Regions from separate parts of the Homo sapiens genome. Here regions 1 and 3 are each linked to region 2. Evidence: promoter capture Hi-C in 16 types of primary human blood cells and fetal thymus (Javierre and others, 2016). All regions are on one chromosome and are shown on one strand. Each heading gives the region's core, a stretch centred on a gene start or on the middle of the fragment in contact. The rest is flanking DNA. Distances are from core to core; before and after follow the strand shown. Region 1 holds the start of KIF14 (kinesin family member 14). Region 2 holds the start of NEK7 (NIMA related kinase 7). Region 3 holds the start of DDX59 (DEAD-box helicase 59).

Region 1 (2,700 bases), core at 94-2,593, 2.5 Mb before region 2:
ACAGGGGCCCGCCACCACGGCTGCCTAATTTTTGTATTTTTAGGAGAGACGGGGTTTCACCATGTTAGCCAGGCTGGTTTTAAACTCCTGACTGCAAGTGATCCGCCTGCCTTGGTCTCCCAAAGTGCTAAGATTACAGGCGTGAGCCACCGCACCTGGCCCTGATAAATATTATATTCTATTTTCTGATAGTTTCCTTATACCTTAATTTTAATTGAGTTTTAGAATGATTTTTAGAGTAAGATTTAGAATGAGTACTTTATCATCTGTTTGGTTGGTCTATATAATTGGAGCTACTTATGGTCTCTATCTCAGTGAATACTTCTTCAATATCTCTGTACTTTTTGCCTGTTTAAAAAACATTGTTGCTTTACAATATCTATTTATCTAGTCTTTCTCATTTATTTGGTTATTTTTCAGAATGTATTTGTAATATTTTTTCAGATTTCAAAATCTTATGGGGGCTGGGCGGCGCAGTGGCTCACGCCTGGCAGCTTACAAGGTCAGGAATTCGAGACCAGCCTGGCCAATATGGTGAAACCCCGTCTCTACTAAAAATACAAAAATTAGCTGGGCGTGGTGGTGCGCGCCTGTAATCCCAGCTACTCCAGAGGCTGAGGCAGGAGAATCGCTTGAACCAGGGAGGCGGAGGTTGCAGGGGCCACTGCACTCCAGCCTGGGCTGCAGAGCGAGACTCCGTCTCAAAAAAGAAAAAAAAAATTAAAAAAAGGGAACTTTTACTGAAACGGAGTTACATTGTACGGCGGCAAGAACCTTCAAGTTCTAGTTATGCCACTGCTAATTGTCTGATCTTTCACAAGTTTAACTCTAAACCTCAGTTCCTCATCTGTAAACGAGGGATAACATTAATATTTATCTCACAAGATTTTCAGGACTGTTTAAAAATTCATATAAGACATTTAGCATATTTCCTACGTGAACGCCTTGCATAGGAAACACTAGAAAAGTTAATTATTATGATTAACTTGGGGGCAAATATCCATTTACAATGTGAAGTCTTCGATGTAATGGCTTCTTTTAGATTAAAGACCGACAAGAGTGTCACTGTCATGCTTTTCGTTTGACACCCACTTCAACGAGGGGCCCGCTGCGCCCGCGACCGCCGCCCCTTCCTCTGGTCGGATTTAAAGGGGGCCAAGCTCCACGCTTTAGCAGAACCCGAGGAGGGGAGGGAGCGTTGCCTGGGAGATGAGGGTGGGGCGAGTCCAGCATTCAGAGACGGCTACCGGAGCCCAACCACCGGCACTTCCGGGGGGCGGGTGGAAGCAAAGGCGCGGCACCCGACGCGACGCCCAGCAGCCAATCAGAAGGCGGGGCGCCCATTCAAATTGCGGCCTTCTGGGGAGCCGGCGCTGGAGGTGGTGAGTGGCGTGGGGACTGTGTCGAGGGGGTCCCCAAGGTGCCGGACCCTGCGGAGGGGCGAAGTTTCGGCACTGGGGAGGGCGTGCGGACGCTTTCCCTACAGGCGACCACTGCTCTGCGGGCGGGTGGTCTTAGCTCCAGTCCCCCATTCAGTTCCTCAGCATTCCAGGTCGGCGGCGAAGGGGTCCCCGAACGAAGGGCGCAAGGCAGCGTCTCTGCTGGGACCGGGAAGCCGGACTTCAGGGCCTCTCGGCCCGTGGGCTTCTCCCCGAGTCTCCCCGAGTCGGTTGGCATTAAGAGGTAATTCTTAGTCATAGCCCCTGGTAATGACTAGCAGAGAAAGAACAGAATCACCGGATGTTTTGGTTTGGATTGTGCTTATTTTCCTTGTATTCCTTCCAGTCCTCTTTAAAATCTGATGGCGAAACTCCTCAAACAGAAACCGTATTGATTTGTGCAAATCGCAAATGGTTTTTAGTTGCAAGAGAATTTCCAGAATCTTCTTTTTGCCTTTAAATTCATTTCATAACAGGAAAATTCTGTATTTTGAGTTGAAACGTTGATGGGAGATGCTTATAAGCTGACGAATTTTTTTTGTAATGACTGTTATTTATGTAAAAATTTAAAAGCCTCATTTAAAAATGAACTTCCATTAATTTGTTCCTCGCTAGCAATAATCTTTGCAATAGTTTGAACCAGTGTCATTTTACAGGTTAGAACCCGGCATGCAAATTTAAAGTCTTGTTTACATCCTTGTAAGGAGTTGGATACAAAGCTGACTAAAAGCCAGGTCTCTTAGCTGTCACTGCTGTTCCCTTTCTTTAAAACGTTAATACCTGATAGATATTGTTGCTGTATATTTACATACACCTCTGTCTAATTTGTTGTCTTACTGCTAAAGGGCAGGTTGTCTGTTTATCTAATCTTGCATGGTTTTTCTCAACACAATTAATTTACAGTACTTATCGTACTTACTGCCTGTGGTACTTGGGAATAATCTGCCTCGTGACACCAATCAATTCAATCTTCTCTATAGGCATTCCTGTATTCAACATACATGGGCCGGACGCGGTGGCTCACGCCTGTAATCCCAGCACTTTGGGAGGCCGAGGCGGGCGGATCACAAGGTCAAGATATCGAGACCATCCTGGCCAACATGGTGAAACCCCGTCTCTACTAAAAATACAAAAATTAGCTGGGCATGGTGGTGGGCGCCTGTAGTCCCAGCTACTTGGGAGGCTAAGGCAGGAGATTTGCTTGAATACAGGAGGAGGAGGTTGCAGCAAGCCAAGGTCGTGCCACTGCACTCCAGCCTGG
Region 2 (2,781 bases), core at 235-2,734:
TAATGCAACCTGACAAGACATACTGCTGTCGCCTGGAGGGAGTGTGCATAGCCTTGAAACTGTAAATTCCTTGGAGGAGGAACTAGAAACAGTGGTTCCCATTATGATGGGTACATTAGGCTCTACAAACTATGGAAATGTGGTGTTTTCAATTGCATCCTTGAGCTCAGTAACCTCAAAGGAGAATAATCATTTTATTTCTGTGTATTTCTGATTTTCAGTTCAGTCACCAGAATTGCGCAAGGACAGTAACATGTATCTTACTGTAAACTAAGTATATTTTTTAGCATTTCTCCCCAGTGAGGACTACAGCAAGGTGAGAACACGATACATCATCTCTCCGCGACCCCAGTACGCTCCCAGTGCAAGACTAAATAGAGGATGCTGCGGTTTTAGGAGTGAAGGCCTACAGTGTAACAGAGGCAACAGAAGTTCTTTAGCTCTCAAGGCAGCATCCTCTAGGTTGTGCTCGCTTCCTTACACTGTTCTGCGGTCATACGGTCTTGTCACTTTTCTCTGTTTTCCTTTGGCTACCCTTCTCTGACTTTGGCCTCAGTTTTCAATTTCTTTTCCATTGCCACCATCACCAGCAATGTTCGCTATTGCCTCGCAATCCCTCTCTCCGACATTTTGTAATCCCGAGTCTCTCCCAAGTTCATTCTCCGACAGACCTCTCACGCTCCCTGTACTTCTGAAGCCACTTCGGATTCTCCCCTATCTGCCGGCTCCCACCACCCACTCTCTCCCAGCGCACTTCACTTTCCTAAGTCGGGCTGCTGCCGAATCCTGACAGACGGACTTCACCAATCCGCGAGAGATAAATAACCGACGTCGCCAATGAGCATCCGCCGGAAGGCGGGACTTCGCTTAAGTTCCTCGGGTCCCGAAACCAAAGACCTGTTGCCGCCGCCGCCGTGGCCACGGAGTTTCTTAGTTACCGCGGCGCCCTTGGCGGCCTCGGGCCTCTAGAGCCGGGGCCAGGTATGAAGTTTCCTGCCGCCCCCTCCCACCGCTGCCAACGAACAAGACCGAAACCCCCATCCGCCTCGAGCGCAGCGCGCCCCGCCCCACCTACCCCGAGCGAGGGTATCCCGGAGGCCGCCCCGCGCGGTCCCGACCTCCCTCTCCCGGCCCGACTCCCGCAGGCGGCCCCTCCCGGCAGGAGCTGCCCGGTCCGGGCGCCTGAACCCTGGGCAGCGACTCACCAGGAAGTTGGGAGTTTTCCGTTCTCCCGCCCGCGAGAGACCTTGGGCGGGCGGGTGGCTCGGCGCGGCGCCGCCGTCGGAAAGCGCGCTGGGCCGGGGGCTGAGGCTGCGAGGCCCGGAGCCTGTCGGCCACCTCCCGCCGCGCCGCCCCGGCGGACGCTGCAGGCGCGGGGCACCCACCCTGCGCACTGCGAGGCGCGTCCGGAGTGCGAGCCTAGCGGCGGCCCATCCTCCCGCGACTCCCGATCCTCCTCCTGCTGCCGCCGCTGTCAGGAGTGTAAACATCCCGGCATCCCCGAGGAGAGGGGCGGGGCGGGCGCCGGCCCCACCCCGCGTCGTGAGTCCAGGCCGGCTGCCCGATGGAGGCTTCCCGCCTGCGTCCCCGGCGCTCCCTGGAGCTGGGGGAGCCTCGGCGGTTTCCCTACTGGAGCCGAAGTCGCTCTGGAGGAGCCCCTCCTGGCCCCTCTCTTCCGGTTGTCAGGCCTAGCGTGGTGCGGGGCACCGCGTCCGGTCCCCTGAGCCCTCTTCCCCGGCTGCTTTTTAAGAACCCAGGGTCGGCTGCTTTTTAAGAACTTGTTTTTTCTTCATTTATATGTAAGTGCCCCCACTTGCAAGCGGTGAACCGACTTACTGATGTTCCCTTCTGGACCACAGCGTTTGTGATCCCATCTTCTTTTACCAGGTGATTTAAACTACCTCTGTGTTTAATGTGGAGTGCAGGGAAATGAGAAAAAAAAAAAAAGGCGTTTTCCTGAGTCTGGCTAAGCAAACGTTGCATGAAAGTGTCCCAGCATAGAGGACAGGGGCTTCAACAACATTCCAGAAGGTAAACTCCCTGGTGTGGTACGGAGGATCTTTGAAATAAATATGTGCAAAATCACCCAGAACCCTAGTACACGAAACTGCAAAAGGAATGCTTTGACACCAGCAGCTTCACGACTTAAGTTAACAGGGCATGAACTACTCGAGGAGACGGCTAGGAGGCAGTATGGAGTCGGCCATACCTTAATTGTCGTCTCAACTCAGTGATTAATTTTGTGACCTGGCTGCAAGTTATTTAACCTCTCCAAGTCTCAGTAACTCTCTGTAAAAGGAGATTAGTTGTAATACCAACCTCTAGGACCATAGTTAGAATTAAGTGAGATAAAGCAAAGTGCTTAACCACAAAGCTTGGCATATAAGACGTGCTCATTAAATTGTTGCTGTTGTTCATAGGTCTCTCACTAGTTTAACTTCCCTGACAAAAAGATTAGAGCCAAGAATGAGTAGATTATACCTCAAACATTTAAAATGTTAAAGCCATGAAATTAAGATCTGGAAAGTTTATTTTTAAAAAGAAAAATGGCCGGGCGCAGTGGCTCATGGCTGTAAGCCTAGCATTTTGGGAGGCCAAGTGGGGGGGGGGGTGATCACCTGAGGTCAGGAGTTCGAGACCAGCCTGGCCAACATGGCGAAACCCTGTCTCTACTAAAAATACAAAAACTAGCCGAGCGTGGTGGCAGGAGTCTATAATCCCAGCTACTGGGGAGGCTGAGGCAAAAGAATCGCTTGAACCCGAGGCGGGGAGGAGGTTGCA
Region 3 (2,722 bases), core at 223-2,722, 2.5 Mb before region 2:
CATGCACAGAAGGTGAACAAGAATGCTCCTACTAGCCTTATTAGTAATTACTAGGGGCAGATTCAGGTTTTATGGGGTATGAGCTTATATAATTGGAAAAGAGGAGGCTTTTAAAGAAAAAGATTCAGAATGATGAATACAAATTAGGTTCAAAAGTGACTAATTTTTATAATGGCAAAAGAAATTACAACAATTAGAAATGTCACAAAACCCAGGAAAAGAGTTCTGTTATAGGTATGTGACCTACGAACTTGGGAAGTCTGATACATTTAGTCTGTGTGGTTCCCATCAATAAAGAAAATACTTAAAGTGCATTTATAATCCTATCCGCTACAGTATTGAATACATTCCTGACAGGAGAAAACTTCCTTTTGACTAGGCAGTAAGAAATAAATGTTCTGTTACTACACGTAACAACTTGGATGAACCAAAAAAACAAATGTTGAGTGATAAAAAGCGAATTCCAGGCTATATGTATTTTTATAAAGCTCAAAAAGAAGAAAAATACACCAATACACAGGAATGCATCCAAATATGATAAAACCACTAAAAATGGCAAAGAGGGACAAAACTGAAGATAGTGGTGGTGAGCTAAGAGGCCAGGAGTAGAATCCTGGAGATGCATAGATACATGCTAAATACTGATAACGTGGTGGAGTGATAGTTTCATTAGCATACTTTAAATTTTACATATTTGGTAAATATGCTCTTTTGAATGCATCGACTATTACACTGAAAATATTTTTAAATACTTAAGGCACCTGAATATAAGCTGGCTTCCCTCCTTCCTCTCCCGTGCTGTCTCCTCTCCCCCATCACTTCTCAACTACAAGCTGCTTGGGACACGTGGCTCCAGAGGTTGGCAAAACAGGGAAATGTCAGCCCACAAGGAACAAGAACCGTGACTTGTGTTATTTTCTTGTTGGTGTTGGGGTGGGGGGAGGGGTGCGGTGGTGCAGGAAATATTATCCAGCTTATCATATATGCCACATCAAGCTGACTCCGTTTAAATTTTGAGTGGCTCTACTAGCTAAAGCCAGAAAAGGGTTTTTGGGCCCAACGGGCAGAAGTGCCCCTCCCTTTTACACTCACACTTCCCACTTTCTAAGGGTGCCAGGCCCCCGCGCCGCCCTCCTGCTTCTTTCCGGACGGTCCAACTCTTTTCCACCAGTCCCAGCCCATTCGATTACGTAAATTCTTCCAAGAGGATTCCCAAACGTGCCCCTCCGTCCAGAACTCGCCCAGCCCGGACCAGTTCCGAGATTTACCACCAGCCCAGAGCTGGGCGGGGGCGTGGAAAACGCGAGGAGCCTTCCCGCCCCTCTCCTTCTCCCTCCCTCCCTCCCAAGCCACTGCCGGCTCCCAGCCGAGCTCCGCCCCCGCGGTGGCCCCGCCTCCCCGCCGCCCGGAAAGCGGGCTGCGGCCCCCTCCCAAAACCCGGGGAAGTGGATTCTACTCTACGCTCCGCTCCGCTCCGCTCCGCACCACCAACCCCGGGCCGCAGTCCTGACGAGCGGGTCAGGGCTTGTCGGGCGGAAGCCTGGCCTGGAGCCTGGAAGGGGGAGACGGCCCGAGCGGGAGCGGGAGCGGACGCGGCCTCAGTCCTGCGCGGGTGAGCGTGCCCCGGAAGCTTGGGCCCCTGGCCGCCCTGGTGCCCCTTCTCCGGGACCTGGGGCGCTAGGCCGCGGCGGCAGAACTGGTGCCCCTGCGCGGCCTTCCTCCCATCCTTACAGTTCCCCGTGTCCCAGGCCTCTACCCGGAACCGGAGCCCCGCCCGTCTCCTAGCAGCTCCGTGACGTGAAGCGCCTCGGGGTGCGGTGCCGCCGGGCGTGGGTGGGAGGCAACGCCCGAGGGGAGGGCCCGCCAGTGCACGGGGGTGCGGGGCGCGTTGGCGAGAATTGGAGGCCGCGCCGCCGCCAGCCGTCCGCCGTCCCGCCCAGCAGGAGCACGTTCCCTTTCGCCATTGGAAGACTGAGTTCCAAGCTTTTTCCTGCTCACCTAGAGCCGTCCCTGCCCCGCCCGCCACCCCCTGTACATTTTCGGAGATTTAGGATAGTAATTCTAGACCCTCGGTTGCATTTCTGTTGGAATTTTTCTGGAAGTTGGAATCTGGCAGTTTAAACAAAGAATTTTTTTAAGAAAAATATTTATTAGTATATTTGATAGTCCCCAGATTAGGTTAAAAGCCTTATTCCCAATAACTGTAATTTTGCAAAGACATGTTTTTGGTGTAAAAAGGTATAGATATGGGTTGATGAAAAGAATCAAACTCTGAAAAATATTTGAAGAGATTTATTTTGAGCCAGATTCAAGTGACCATGGCCAGTGACAGTCCTCAGGAGGTCCTGAGAACATGTGCCCAAGGAAATTGGGGTACAGCTTGGTTTTATCTATTTTAGGAAGGCGTGAGACATCAAATACATTTAAGAAATACATTGGTTTAGTTTAGAAAGGCGGGGCAACTCAATCGGTAAATGTAAACGTTATCTGGTTGAGGTTATCTAAAGACCTGGGATCCATAAAAAGGAATGTTCAGGCTAGAGATAAAGGATTGTGGAGACCAAGTTTTATTGTGCAGAGGAAGCTCTTAGATAGACTTTAGAGAGAGCAGGTTGTAAATTGTTTTATATTGGACTTAAAAGGGTGCCTGGCTCTTAGTTGATTATCTCCTGGATCTGGGAAGGAAGGAGGGAAAACAAGGGGAGATGGGAATTCTCACCAA

The links. The method cuts DNA at HindIII sites, captures the fragments that hold promoters and counts their contacts. A CHiCAGO score of 5 or more calls a contact.
Region 1: a contact is called between the fragment with the promoter of KIF14 here and the fragment with the promoter of NEK7 in region 2, in 1 of 17 cell types (fetal thymus). The highest score is 6.5, in fetal thymus.
Region 3: the fragment with the promoter of DDX59 here is called in contact with the fragment with the promoter of NEK7 in region 2 in 3 of 17 cell types (total B cells, fetal thymus and erythroblasts); the score reaches 8.4 in total B cells.

Annotation. Positions count from the first base shown.
Region 1 is chr1:200,619,394-200,622,093 of GRCh38, reverse strand. KIF14 (kinesin family member 14) reads left to right here and starts at 1,343. Exons shown (of 30, transcript NM_014875.3): 1 at 1,343-1,683. RefSeq lists a silencer at 1,256-1,405 and an enhancer at 1,574-2,075. The HindIII fragment of the contact is 3,652 bases long and covers 1-2,700 here.
Region 2 is chr1:198,155,701-198,158,481 of GRCh38, reverse strand. It overlaps NEK7 (NIMA related kinase 7), which reads right to left and starts at 1,484. Exons shown (of 10, transcript NM_133494.3): 1 at 1,206-1,484. RefSeq lists enhancers at 759-808, 2,239-2,298 and a silencer at 1,049-1,648. The HindIII fragment of the contact is 2,805 bases long and covers 1-2,376 here.
Region 3 is chr1:200,668,657-200,671,378 of GRCh38, reverse strand. It overlaps DDX59 (DEAD-box helicase 59), which reads left to right and starts at 1,472. Exons shown (of 8, transcript NM_001031725.6): 1 at 1,472-1,612. DDX59-AS1 (DDX59 antisense RNA 1) reads right to left here and starts at 1,872. Exons shown (of 3, transcript NR_110787.1): 1 at 1,757-1,872. RefSeq lists a silencer at 1,319-2,058. The HindIII fragment of the contact is 3,439 bases long and covers 1-1,632 here.